2 separate regions of the Homo sapiens genome follow, and region 2 is linked to region 1. Evidence: promoter capture Hi-C in human tissues and cell types (Jung and others, 2019). All regions are on one chromosome and are shown on one strand. Each heading gives the region's core, a stretch centred on a gene start or on the middle of the fragment in contact. The rest is flanking DNA. Distances are from core to core; before and after follow the strand shown.

Region 1 (6,904 bases), core at 2,333-4,832:
CCAGGGGAGGTGGTCTGGGCTCAGGGAGCAAGAGGCTGCCTTTCCCTGTCCAGGATTCTGTCACCTGAACATGACCCTGCAGGCACAGATGGTGGCCAACCTTCAGGTCACATGGCCGTCCTCCTGGGCTGATGCTTTCCTGGTGTTGTTTTCCTCTAGCTCATTTCTTCTTGGGATCTGTATCCTGGAGGCAAGGGATGCTGTAGACCCAGCTGTCCCTGCAGCCCCTTAGGACAGTGGTGGCAGGGCCTGTAATCTGGTCTCATGCATTCATTCATTCCGCAAGCCCAGCCCCAGGTCTCTGAGTGCCACCCTAGAGGTGTTAAACAAAGGAGGCCAGGCAAAGTCCCATCTCCCTCAGGGCCTAGGCTTGAGATCACAGCAGGAGGAGCCAAGGAGACTCACGATTACCCTCCTGAATCCCTTCAGTCACTCACAAGTGGCAATGCTGGGCAAGCTGAGTAAAACAAAACCCATCTGCAGACCAGAGTCAGCCACCTTCCCATCTGTGTCAAGGAAGTGTTCCTGCAGGCCTGGCGCCGGCCTCCGCCCCAGGGACGCTGGGCTGAGGTGTTGGGTCTCCCACCAGGGCCTGGAAGACCTGTGGGCATGTGGGAGGAGGAGTCACATTGCACAATTGCAGAGTCCCCTCCCCACCGCCCTCCACTGTGCCACCATCAGCGTGGCAACCAGAGGTCTACACTCTCAGGGCAATTGCTGGCTGCCTCCTCCAGGGTCTCCTTCCAGTTTTATATGACATCTGGGACCCCTGGGATCTTCACCCCTACCAAGGAGCACTGAAGTTTATACACTGCCCTGGGAGTTGGGGGTGATGTGATGTGTGGGAAGCTTCAGGCCACAGGTGGGGCCAGGAGGAGTGAGAGATGGTGACCAAGCAGGGGGGACTCCAAGCTATCACCCTGTCCCATTCTAAAGGAGCATCTGTTCAGGCAAGGCAAGCAGAGGGCCACTAGCAGCCAGGCCCCTGACCTTCCCCTGGTGGCTTTGGGAACATTCCTAACTATGCACCACAGCTGGCAGATCAGGAGTGGGAATGGCAGGGCCACCTGCAGCTGTGATTGGGTGGCTATGTGCGAATTGAGCACGTCAGTCCTCCACACAAGGCCCAGACTGTGTGGGCACCTGCCGCGGGAACTCCTGCCTCTTGGCCTGTGTCCTGAGCTTTGGGTGTGCAGCCAAGCTTGGGATGGGGTTAGGTGAAGCCTCACCTCTCTACCTGACTCTCTCCTGTCCTCCAGTGCCACCGCATCCACCGGTCACTCGCCAGCCAGTTCAAGTACGCCCTGGTGTGGGTGAGTCTCTGGGTGGAAAGCAACCAGGGGGGTAGACCCAGGACAGCCCCTGGGTTAGGCATGAAGCAAGGCATTCACACTCTCTGCGTGGTGTTCCTGTCCTTCCTGTGGGGATTGGCATGTCTGTGTGTCTGTCCTCCATAGAATGTACATGCCAACCCAGGGTAGACATGGGCCTTCCCCACCCTTTTTTTTTTCTGGTTTTTTTTTTTTTTTTTTTTTGAGACAGGGTCTGGCTCTGTCTCCCACGCTGGAGTGCAGTGGCACGATCATGGCCCAGTGCAGCCTCGACATCTGTGCAAAAGCGATCCTCCCACCTCAGCATCACAAGTAGCTGGGACTACAGGCACACACCACCATGCCTGGCTAATTTTTCATGGAGACAAGGTTTCGCTATCTGGCCCAGGCTGTCTCAAACACCTGAGCTCAAGTGATCCTCCCACCTTGACCTCCAGAAGTGCTGGGATTACAGGCATTAGCCACTGTGCCTGGCCCTCCCCAACCTTTGAGATCAGGGATGGTCAGACAACTGCGGACATCCTGCTGCCTGAGGCCCCCACCTTATGCCATGGCATTTACCCTTCAGGACACACACGCCCAGGGATATCTTCCTTGACCTTGGCCAGTCCAGGCTGAGGTGACCCCTCTGCCCCCATTCCTCACCCAGGGCACCAGCACCAAGTACAGTCCGCAGCGGGTGGGCCTGACCCACACCATGGAGCATGAGGACGTCATCCAGATCGTGAAGAAGTAACGGCGCCTGCCGGGCCTCCCGCCCACCTGCCTCGTCTCCCTGGGGAGGTGGTCCCACTGGGACACACAAACACCCAAACAGAAAAATACAAATACACGTACCCCAGGAAGGGGTCCCTCAAGTCTCTGCTATTTACAGAAGTTTCTTCAGTAGGCAGACGAAGAGTGTGTTGGGGCAAAGGGGCTCGGTTGGAGGCATTTCCCATAAGACTGAGCCCTCTCATGGGGGTTTTGAGTTTGTAGTGCTGAGCCTGCATCTGTGCCTCCCAGCCCCCTGCACTGAGGGAGCAAGTTGCCCACATGCCCGCCAGCCAGGGCCTAAAGCAGATGGCATGCTCAGTGCCAGGCTGGTAGCTGGGCCTGTTTGGGTCCCTGGAGGCTGTGGCTGCTGTCATGGCACCTCACTCCCTCAGCTCTTGCCAGCTTCTCTGACACTTGGGTTGGGGGCCCTTCCAGGAGGAAACCCCCTTGGGTGCCCCACACAGGGCTCTCCATGATGGGAACCAGTGGTTAGTGGCTTCAAAGGCCCAGCTGACACCCTCCACAGCCTAAGGGGTGTCCTAAAGTGCCTCCCCCTGTATTCCCCCTCCCAGGGCAGCCCCTGCCCAGCACAAAACCCCAGGACCCTGGCTCTGCACGCCTGGGGCAGGGACTTTTGAGTTTAGGATCTGTATTTTCTAAGTCCCCAGTTCTCCTGGCTCTCCTTTCTGAAATAAAGGATTGAAAACGGTTCCTGTTCAGACTGAGAACACTTTGTAAACTTGCTGAACAGTAGCCAGGTTGAGTCAGGTGGGCACAGGTCAGACATTGGGCCTGGGGGTCGGAGAGGGTGCAGCCTGGGCCCCAAGGCAGACCCAGGCCTTGTGTGGCAAGGAGACTGCAGGGTTCCTCACCCAGGCACAGGCAGGCTCTGCCCAGGGGGTTGGTGTTCGGGGGTGTCAGGCCCAGACTGGCCCCTCCGGAGGGGCCTGGCTGCCAAGGTGGGCAGCATCCCAGGAGGCCCTTGTGACCATCTGGGCTGGCAGGGAGGCTCTGTGAGAACAAGGTGGCGGGTCATTTCCTGTTGCCTCAGAAGTCAGGAGTAGAGGGGCTGGCAGGGGCTCGATGAGTGCCTACCGTGTGCCAGGGACTGTGCCAGGCCCCCCACAGTGTTCTGCTGTCCCCCAGAAGCTGGTGTAGGCTGCACAGTTTGTGAGTGCAGACCCCGGATTTAAGACCTCTGAGCAGCGGGGAAGGCTTCCTGGAGGAGGTATGCCTTTTGAGATGGATGCAGCAGGTTCTGTGAGGCTGCCAGGAGGGGTAGAGTTCCCGGGGGCCTCGGGCCCCGCTGGAGTGTGGAGCAGGCCCATGCTCAGCTCTCCAGGCTGTTCGTGGCTCCCCTGTCAGCTGCTCACTCCTTTCCAGAGACAAAACAGGAATAATAGACATCATTAAATATACATAGGGCCCCAGGCGGTCGGCGTGGTGGGCTGGGCCTCCCTTCCCCATAACACTGAGCTGCTCTGCTGGGCCAACCGTGCTCCTGGGCCAGCCAGAGGACCCCCATGAGGCGGCATGCAGGCGGGGAGCAGGCCACAGAACGCAGGTAAGGAGACCTTAGCCTAGAGTCCTTGGGGTCTGTCACTGGCCACCCTCGCATCCCAGGCTGCAGGGGTGATAAGGGAAGGGGCAGCAGCAGAGCTGGGGCCTCGCCCCTAACTCATCTTGAGGCCCTTCTCTGCCTCACTTTGTTCATCTGTGAGGGGTGTGATGCCCATGCAGTCCCCTCCTGGCGATGGTGGGATACCAAGACAGGCAGGGCCTCTGTGGCTTACCTCGGCCCCTCTCCTGACTGTCCTGATGCCTGGCCATGAGGCCCTAAGTGAGGGTTTCTGCCTGGCTGGTGGCCATTCCCACTTCCACTTTACAGGTAGGGGCTCTGGGCCCAGGGTGAGGTAGGGAAGGCCTTGAGTTCACAGGGTGTCAGGGTGAGTCCAGACCTTGGATTAGATCCAGACCTGTTTTGTCCCCAAGGCTGGCTGGCAAAGGGTGGGAAATGAGGCCAGAGGCTGGGGGTCCTCAGGCAGTGAGGGCTCAGGTGAGAGGCTCCAGCCACTGGGCCACAAGTTCCTCACCGTGGATGGGCTTGTTCCTGGGCTAGATCTGTGTGCGCGTGGATCAGGGCAGGCACTGCGGCTCTGTTATGTCCTGGGCTTTCTGGATCTGTGGTCAGGATGGTTGCGCAGTCTACATTTGCTTGTGAGAGAGCGAGCAAGGGATCCTGCAGCTGCGTATGCCCAGGTCAGTGTGAAGTGGCAGCTTGCGGTGCCTTTAGGGCTGGGGAAGCTCCCTAAGACCCCCCAAAGGTCTCTGACCCTCCCATCCCCGCACCTGGGTAAGCTCCAGGCTTGGGCCTCACCCTGTCAGCCACCTTGTTCTCATCACCCTCCCTGATGATCACAGGCAGGGGTCTGCACCCTCACTCAGGCCCATGCCCAGGCAGCAGAGTTGCATTCATCTCCCAGCTGGCATCCCTGCAGCCTCCCGGGGGTAGTATGGCCTGCAGCTTTAGAAGACTCAGGTACATAGGAGCCAAAGACATGAATATTCATCTATCTGTCCCACACGTGTGCGTTCACTCATTCTCCGTCTTTCTTCCTCTCCAGCTTAGATTCCACAGTTTCTCATTTCGGAACCCTCCTTTGGCAAGAAAGCCGAGTCGAGACCCTCTCCTTCCCACTCTGTCCCTCTCCTAGACAGCTCACCTGACCTCCAGCTTCCATCTCGCCAGACCTGGGTCCGAGCAGCCTTTTTGACTCTCCACTGCACTGTCCTGTAGCCATCCCAAGCCCACCGTGTCCCAGACCAAACATGGCGTTCCCATACCCCCGGCCTCACCTCAGAGACACTCCCCGCACCCCCCAGCTGCACCAAGCCAACCCCAAGACTACTTGTCTCCACCCTCATCCCAGCCCCATCTAGCCTCTCACCAGGGCCAGCCTGTTTCACCTCATCCTGAATGTGTCCGCTGTACACCATCACAGCATGCTCCCAGCTGTGTCATTGTCCCCTCTCCATTCTTTTCCACATGGCAGCCCGAGCTTCTTTTTATAATATTTTCTAAGAAGCCATGTGAGGCAGTGGTTGAGACTGTGGACACTCTGAAGCCAGACTGCCCAGGCTTAACTCCACCTTCAAGCTGTGTCACTCACATAACCTCTCTGGGCCCATGTCCTCATCTGTAAAGTGGGAAGAGTAACCACACCGACTTCAGGAGGTTGTAGTGAGAGTTGAGGTCTGTGTGGCCTGGCCGTTCTGAGCACAGGTCTTGCAGTCAGGGACACAGGCCCCATGGCTTCCTCACTGTGGGCTCTCGGCTGAGGGATCTAACCTCTCTAAGATCAAGCCCTTCATCTATGTGAGAATCTAGTGAGATATTCCAGAAAAGCATTTAGTACCAAGCCTGGCACATAGTAAACATCTGGAAATGCGAAACAGTGACCAAAGTCCCATCCCTTTCACGGCCATTGGGCTAGTCCCTGCCTGCCACCCTGGCCACCTCTCATTTCACATGCCCTCAATCACTCTGCTCCAGCCATAGGACTGTCCTTGAAGCCCCTCTTACCACCTGACCTTTGCACATGCTGTTCCACTTGCCAGGAATACTGTTCCTTCTTCCATGTTATAAGCTCCCTCTTATCCTTCAGATCTTGGCTCAGGGTTGCGTTGTCAGCAGAATCTTCCTGGACCTCCAGTGCAGTGTTTGGGCATCTGTGGGTCATGCCCTGACCTTCACAGCTCTTCTTGTTGATGTGACTCTGCTTAAAGTCTGCATCCAGGATGGGCACAGTGGATCATACCTGTAAACCCAACACTTTGGGAGGCTGAGGCAGGAATATTGCCCGGGGGCAAGGAGTTCAAGACCATCCTGGGCAACATAGTGGGACCCTGTCTCTACAAAAAAACATTAGCCAGGTGTGGTAGCCCACCTCTGTAGTCTCAGCTGCTTGGGCAGCTGAGGTGGGAGGATTGCTTGAGCCTGGGAGCTTGAGGCTGCAGTGAGCTGTGATTATGTTACTGCACTCCAGCCTGAGTGATGGAACCAGAGCCTGTCTCAAAAGAGAAAAAAAAAAAAAAAAAAAAAAAAACAAAGTCTGTGTCCCCTACAACACAGGGAGCTCCATGAGAGCAGAGATCATGTCTGGTTCCACTTAACTCTGCGAACCCCAAGTGCCCTGCACAGTGCTTGGCACATAATAGATGCACAACTAATGCACAAGTAATATTTAAGGAATGAATGAATGAGAGACTTGCTCCCTGACACCCGCTCTGTGCCTGCACAGAGGATGGGGACCCTGAGAGGAAGGCAGGACCTGGAACCTACCAGAGAAGGGGCAGCCTCAGCTGACTACTATCCTGAGGTCAAGCCTGGGACCCAGAGACCAGGAGGGATCAGGTGGGCAGGACTTGCTGCCAGCAGTCACCCAGACCTCCTCACTCAGAGCAGACAGGCAGCAGCCTGTAGCAATGACGTTGGCAGTCATAACAACAGCTGCTTGCCCAGGCCAGCCACTGTGCCCAGCTCTCCGCTATCTCATGTAATGCCCAGGTCAGCCCTGGTAAGGGAGGCATCTACACTCACAGATGAGGAGACTCCAACGCTGAGGCTGCATGACTTGCTATGGGTCAGATCCAGGAGAGGAATGAGACCTGACCCAGAGCTCTGAGCCACTGGGCTCCACGTCCCCTGGGCTAGAGCTGGGCTTGCCTCTCTGAGAGGCAGGTTCTTCATCTGGACAATGGGGCTTTGCAGTGGAAAGATGCCTGCCTGAGGCTTTGAGGCAGGACTTGGGCAAGCC
Region 2 (6,904 bases), core at 1,362-3,861, 57 kb before region 1:
GTGTACATGCGCAGGTTTGATCTATAGATAAACTTATGTCACGGTTTACCTATGTAACTGTTGTGGAGATTATTTTGTCACCCAGGTATTAAGCCTAGTACTGAATAGTTATTTCTTCTGCTCCTCTCCCTTCTCCTACCCTCTACCCTCAAGTAGGCCCCATTGTCTGTTCTTCCCTTCTTTTTTTTTTTGAGATGAAGTCTCGCTCTGTTGCCCAGGCTTGAGTGCAGTGGTGCAATATCTGCTCACTGCAACCTCTGCCTCCCAGGTTCAAGCAGTTCTCCTGCTCAGCTTCCCAGGTAGCATGTACCACCACACCAGGCTAAATTTTTTTTTGTACTTTTGGTAGAGATGGGGTTTCACCATGTTGGCTAGGCTGGTCTTGAACTCTTGACCTCAGGTGATTTGCCTGCCTCAGCCTCCCAAAGTGCTGGGATTACAGGCTTGAGCCTATTGTTTCCTTCTTTGAGCCCATGAGTTCTCATCATTTAGCTCCTACTTATAAGGGCAGTATTTGGTTTTCTGTTCCTGCATTAGTTTGCTAAGGATAACGGCCTCTAGCTCTACCCGTGTTCACGCAAAAGACATGATCTCATTTCTTTTTATGGCTTCATAGTATTCCTTGGTGTATATATACCACGTTTTCTTTATCCAATCTGTCATTGATGGGCATTTAGGTTGACCCACTTTTTACTATTGTGAATAGTGCTACAGTGAACATTTGCATGCATGTATCTTTATAGTAGAATGATTTATACTCCTCTGGGTGTATACCCAATAATGGGATTGCTGGGTCGAATGATAGTTCTGTTTTTAACTCTTTGAGGAATTGCCACATTGCAAAACGGAGCTTTAAAGTTTGTTTTCATGCCTTCTGGAAGTGAAATTCTAGAAATGTAAAGAATAAATATGAAATAACATTCTTTTTGCACTTTTGAGCCATCCGTCAGTCAAGAGAGGCGACCTTTCCGGGGAACCCAGCAGCTTTCAGGGGTTACCTGGGAGCCCAGCCTTTGGGGGCCATGGGCAGGCCCCCCACTTACTCATTACTTGGGTTTGGAAGGGTTGGAAGCTCCAGCTGAAGTTGTGCTAGACTTGTGCTTAACTAGGGAGACAGGTCACACCTACCAAAACTCACAAAAACAAAAGTGCCAGTTTTTGTCAGAGAATGAGATTCCTGTATGTTCCAGAAGTTCCTGTTGACTTATTGGCCAATTGAATGTTAATCCTCCAGAAGACAGGTCTACATGGAAAGTCGTGGTACCTATCACCACACAGTTTTGGGTGAGCCTGGAATCAGTGGGAGGATTAGTTGGGGGACTTAAATGTCTGACAACAGCCAGACCCACCAAGGGATGCCCACTCCTGCTTTTGCTGCCTCTGTTATTCATTTCTCGATATCCTTTCTTCTGACATGGTTTTTCGTCCGCTCTATAAATTACCCCTCATTGGGCTGTAATAAAGTGCTTGAATTTCCTGTTCCTGCTCTGAGAATATTTTATCTTTTCAGTGACTTCTGTACACACTGAATCTCATTTATTAGGTATTTATTTTATTTAATTCTCAAAGTTTGAGGGTACCCTGTAGTTACCCTGATATACTGCCTAAAGTATGTTTACAAAGAAGTCAATGCAGAATTATTCATTAAGAAAACTAGTGATTTAAACCATAAGTGTTTTAATCATATTAGGACCTCCTCCCCACCCCTCCCTTTTTTAAAAATAGAGACCGGGTCTTACTATGTTGCCCAAGCTGATCTTGATCTCCTAGGCTCAAGTGATCCTCCTGTCTTGGCCCCCTAGAGTGCTGGCATTACAGGTGTGAGCCACCAGGCTTGGCCTTGTATTAAAACCTCTTTATCATTTCATCCTATCCCTTTCAAGGAAGTTCAGAAAAAAGATTAAAGCTTGAAACTCGGAAAAATAATATAAACAGTTTGTAGTTGGCTGATGCCTGTAATCCCAGCACTTTGGGAGGCCGAGGCAGGTGGATCACGAGGTTAGGAGTTCAAGACCAGCCTGGCCAAGATGGTGAAACCCGTCTCTACTGAAAATACAAAAATTAGCCACACGTGGTGGTGGATACCTGTAATCCCAGCTACTCGGGAGGCTGAGACAGAGAATTGCTTGAACCCGGGAGGCGGAGGTTGCAGTGAGCCAAGGTTGTACCACTGCACACCAGCCTGGGCGACAGAGCGAGACTCCATCTCAAAAAAAAAAAAAATAGCTTCTAGTTTAAAATCTCAAATGCAGGTGCTGATTTATTGAGAACTTTTTTCCTTAGTAGTCTTTCCTAGAACAGATTATAATTAAAAGTTAGTTTATACCGGCTGGGTGCGGTGGCTCACGCCTGTAATCCCAGCACTTTGGGAGGCCGAGGCGGGTGGATCATGAGGTCAGGAGATCAAGACCGTCCTGGCTAACACCATGAAACCCTGTCTCTACTAAAAATACAAAAAATTAGACAGGCGTGGTGGCATGCATCTGTAATCCCAGCTACTTGGGAGGCTGAGGCAGGAGAATCACCTGAACCCGGGAGGCAGAGGTTGCAGTGAGCCGAGATCGTGCCACTGCATTCCGGTCTGGGCGACAGAGCAAGACTCTGTCCCTCCCCCCAAAAAAAAAAAAAAAAGTTAGCTTATACCTTAAAAATTAGGTTTACATTTAGGAAAATTTCTCCTCTCTCATTTTTTCAGTCTATGTATTTAAATATTTATGTGAAGAATCCAGCAACAGTGTTAGGATAGGGGGGTTGTGGGTTTGGGGCAGTATTAGATTTATCATATTTTAAGTTCACTGTTAAGGAAACAGATCCCCTCCATGGTGTCATCCTAAAGCAGGCCTCCTGAGCCACCTGCAGCGGTGGTGACGTTCTGTTTCCTGGGAGCCTCTGCACCAGTGGCTTTTACTGTGGCAGCCTCTCTCAGGAAGGTCCTACACTACATGCAGGCCAGGTTGGTAGATGTGGCAAAGCCATCAGAATGAGGTTTTTGATGCAGAATAAGAGGGGCTTACATCTGATCTGAAGGAAAAACGTGGGCCTTCTGCAGTCCTTGATGTTAGGACTGTAATCTGTGGTTTTCCAGGCCAGTGACTCTCATAACCATGCTCCTGGCAGACACCAGGGGCTTGGCAAGGTAGCCTGAGAGGTGGGTGCTTGGTTGGTTTCTACAAATGCAGAGAAATGTAGACTTTTTACGGTGTTAACTTTTTGTCTTATTAATCTTTTTTAAAATCATTGGTGCCTACTTATTAACACATGAACAAAGAGCAATTAACAAAGCACCCAAGCCAGCACATGGCTTCTTGCTTACGTTTTCCACGGTGTGGTTTTTACATTCAGACATGATTTACATATGTTTTTCCTCATATAAATTGTTTTTAGTTCATATGTTTTTCCTCATATAAGTTGTTCTTAGTTCATGTGACAGAATTAAACGTATCCCTATGTATCAAGGTATTCTAAGACTACCTTCAGGGACCATTTGTATAGTTCATTACTAGAAGTTTCTCTGAACATGTAGAACACTGAAAAAAGTATTTACTTTTTTTTTTTTTTTTTTTTTTTGAGACAGAGTTTCACTCTTATTGCCCAGGCTGGAGTGCAATGGCGTGATCTCGGCTTACTGCAAACTCCGCCTCCAGGTTCAAGCAATCTCCTGCCTCAGCCTCCCGAGTAGGTGGGATTACAGGCATGCGCCACCACGCCCGGCTAATTTTGTATTTTTAGTAGAGATGAGGTTTCTCCATGTTGGTCAGGTTGGTCTTGAACTCCTGACCTCAGGTGATCCTCCCACCTCGGCCTCCCAAAGTGCTGGGATTACAGGCGTGAGCCACCATGCCTGGCCAAAATAAAAGGTATTTTAGGCTGGGTGCGGTGGCTCACACCTGTAATCCTCGCACTTTGGGAGGCCAAGGCGGGTGGATCACCTGAGGTCAGGAGTTCGAGACCAGCCTGGCCAACATGGCGAAACCCCGTCTCTACTAAAAATACAAACATTAGGTGGGCGTGGTGGCAGCCAACTGTAATCCCAACTACTCGGGAGGCTGAGGTAGGAGAATCACATAAACCCAGGGTGTGGGAGGAGGTTGCAGTGAACCGAAATTGTGCCATTGCACTCCAGCCTGGGCGACAGAGCAAGACTCTGTCTCAGGAAAAATAAAAAAGTATTCTACCCCAGAATCCACCCTGGAACCTTGGAGAATTGGTGTAAAAGGGACAAATGACTGAGCCAGTTGGAGAACCAGTGGCTTGAGGGAGCCTTAGTGGTAGACACAGTGATTTTGGAGCCTCTTTGGGTCTAACCTTGGAAAGTAAAATCTACCAAGTTATGATCTGCTTTGTATGCTAGAATATTAAAAATTTATTTGTGGAAACATCCAAATTATTTTCTAAGAGACTAGCATGTAACAATTGAAGTCAAAGAAGGGCTGTCTGCTGCTGGCAAAATCCAGGAAACCCTTCATTCTCTGGGTGATTTAGATTCAGGTCCATTGCCACAGCCTGTTGGCAAACTGGCTGCGATCTAACTCTGGTTTGGATTGTCAGGTAGCAGTGTCTAGGTACTGGAAAGAAGTTAAAGCAAAGTTTATTTTTCCTTTGTACAAAGGTTAAAAACTCTCACTCAACATCTTATTTTGATATTTGGGTTTTTACCATAGGAGTATCCAACCCTTACAACCTTCTTCGAAGGAGAAATAATCAGCAAAAAACACCCTTTCTTAACTCGCAAGTGGGATGCAGATGAAGATGTTGATCGGAAACACTGGGTGAGTAAATCTGATCTGTGCTGGGTCATCTAGGGGCTGCTAGAGAATTGAAGAAATGCTGGGAGCCAGAGACCTTGTCCCTTATTGAGGATTACTGGGGCTTTGCAACCAAGTAAAAGGTTGCACTGCACACAGACCTCAGTTGTTCCATCTTCCTTATGAGGACAGTTTAAATACGATCTGACCTGCTGCTTAAATAGCAAATGGTTGTCTGATGATAGCAACCCCAGAGTTCCAGCCAGAACTCTGCTCAGCTATCAGAATCTTAACAGTGTCCCCCCATCCTTCCCACCTGTTTGTCCATCTTCTGTCCACTGTTCCTTTCAAATCACCTCTGCTTGGGGAAAACCCTGTGAAACATGCAATGATGACCTCCGGCTTCGGGGCTGGCATGAGATGGAGATGATGTTGTGGGAATCTGCCTGCCCACTGGCTTATCAGGGCAGAGCCACATCATTTCTTTTTATCCTGGCTGCTGACAGACAAGTATAGTCTTGTCTTAAGTACACCACTATAAATCCTGCTGCCCCCCTTTTTAACTGTCAAGTGTAGAGCATTCTCACTCAGCAGTAGTGAATGCTTCAAGACAGTTAGTGTCCTGGGATCTTTTCATTTGTTGTCATATAAGTACCATGTCTTCAAAAATCAGTGTCTCGGCTGGGCGCGTTGGCTTGCGCCTGTAATCCCAGCACTTTGGGAGGCCGAGGCGGGCGGATCACCAGGTCAGGAGATTGAGACCATCCTGGCTAACACGGTGAAACCTCGTCTCTACCAAAAATACAAAAAATTAGCTGGGCGTGGTGGTGGGCACCCGTAGTCCCAGCTACTCTGGAGGCTGAGGCAGGAGAATGGCGTGAACCCAGGAGGCGGAGCTTGCAGTGAGCCGAGATTGTGCCACTGCGCTCCAGCCTGAGCAACAGAGTGAGACTCCGTCTCAAAAAAAAAAAAAAAAAAATCATTTTCTCAACCTAATAGCCTTTTGCTTTAGTTGACCATGGTGATGGTGAATTTTTGTTTAACATTGAAGAAGTTCAATGGGTTTACCCTCCATAAACCAACCAGAAATGGCTGTGTCAGTAGCAAAGATTCTAGAACTCGTTCTTCCCATTGCCTCTCACACCTGGCTATCTAAACTCTCCCCTGGTTCTGGCACAGCAGTCTGTGGAGAGAACTCCCGCAGACCCTTGTCTTGAGTTCACCTCACTAGAGATCAGTTGCTTTGCTTACTAATGTTTTTTATTTGTTTATTTTATTTAAAAAAAATTTTTTTTAGAGTTGGGGTCTTGCTCTGTCGTCTATGCTGGAGTGCAGTGGCATGATTATAGCTCACTATAGCCTCAACCTCCTGGGCTCAAGTAATCCTCCCACCTCCGCGCCCCAAGTAGCTAGAACTACAGGCACGTGCCACCACACTGAGCTCATTTTCTTTTATTTTTGTAGAGACAGAGTCTCCCTATGTTACCCAGGCTGGTCTTGAACTCATGATCTTAAGTGATCCTCTTGCCTTGTCCTCCCAAAGTGCTGGGATTATAGGTGTGAGCCACTGACCCAACCTGTTTTTTTGGTTTTTCTTTTATGGGGGTTTTTGTTTTGTTTTGTTCTGTTTTGTTTGGTTTGGTTTTGAGACAGAGTCTCAGTCTGTCACCCAGGCTGGAGTGCAGTGGCGTAATCTCGGCTCACTGCAACCTCTGCTCACTGCAACCTCCGCCTCCCAGATTCAAGTGATTCTCATCTCTCAGCCTCTCAAGTAGCTGGGATTACAGACGTGCACCACCGTGCCTGGCTAATTTTTGTATTTTTAGTAGAGACAAGGTTTCGCCATGTTGGCCAGGCTGGTCTTGAACTCCAGGCCTCAAGTAATCCTCCTGCCTTGGCCTCCCAAAGTGCTGGGATTACAGGCGTGAGCCACCATGCCCAGCCCCAAGCTGTTTTTTACTTGAGTAAAAAAAGGAGATCTATCAAATACTGAGGTTCAGTTAAATTTAAATTTAAACTTGAGCTTTTTAAAGCGTTTTTTGAATTCTATACATTTTGATTGTTGTAGCAAATGGACACTAAAAACTAGACAGTCATTTGTGTCTCTCTGTGATACAAGAGAATGCACAAGACCTGAGTATCCAGAAGGTTGGGGGAGC

What was found. The method cuts DNA at HindIII sites, captures the fragments that hold promoters and counts their contacts. A contact is called where the count stands out against the background at its distance.
Region 2: a contact is called between a fragment that was not itself captured here and the fragment with the promoter of MYO15A in region 1, in 1 of the 25 tissues and cell types used here (thymus).

Annotation. Positions count from the first base shown.
Region 1 is chr17:18,105,174-18,112,077 of GRCh38, forward strand. It overlaps MYO15A (myosin XVA), which reads left to right and starts at 3,583. Exons shown (of 66, transcript NM_016239.4): 1 at 3,583-3,651. DRG2 (developmentally regulated GTP binding protein 2) reads left to right here. Exons shown (of 13, transcript NM_001388.5): 12 at 1,260-1,313; 13 at 1,981-2,796. The coding sequence ends at 2,067. It overlaps LOC105371566 (a long non-coding RNA gene), which reads right to left. Exons shown (of 3, transcript NR_164159.1): 2 at 5,679-5,905; 3 at 2,518-3,462. RefSeq lists an enhancer at 1,879-2,526. The HindIII fragment of the contact is 16,274 bases long and covers 1,026-6,904 here.
Region 2 is chr17:18,049,466-18,056,369 of GRCh38, forward strand. GID4 (GID complex subunit 4 homolog) reads left to right here. Exons shown (of 6, transcript NM_024052.5): 3 at 4,662-4,769. Among named protein-coding and RNA genes, the nearest start is that of GID4, 14 kb to the left of the region's middle. The HindIII fragment of the contact is 5,660 bases long and covers 1-5,441 here.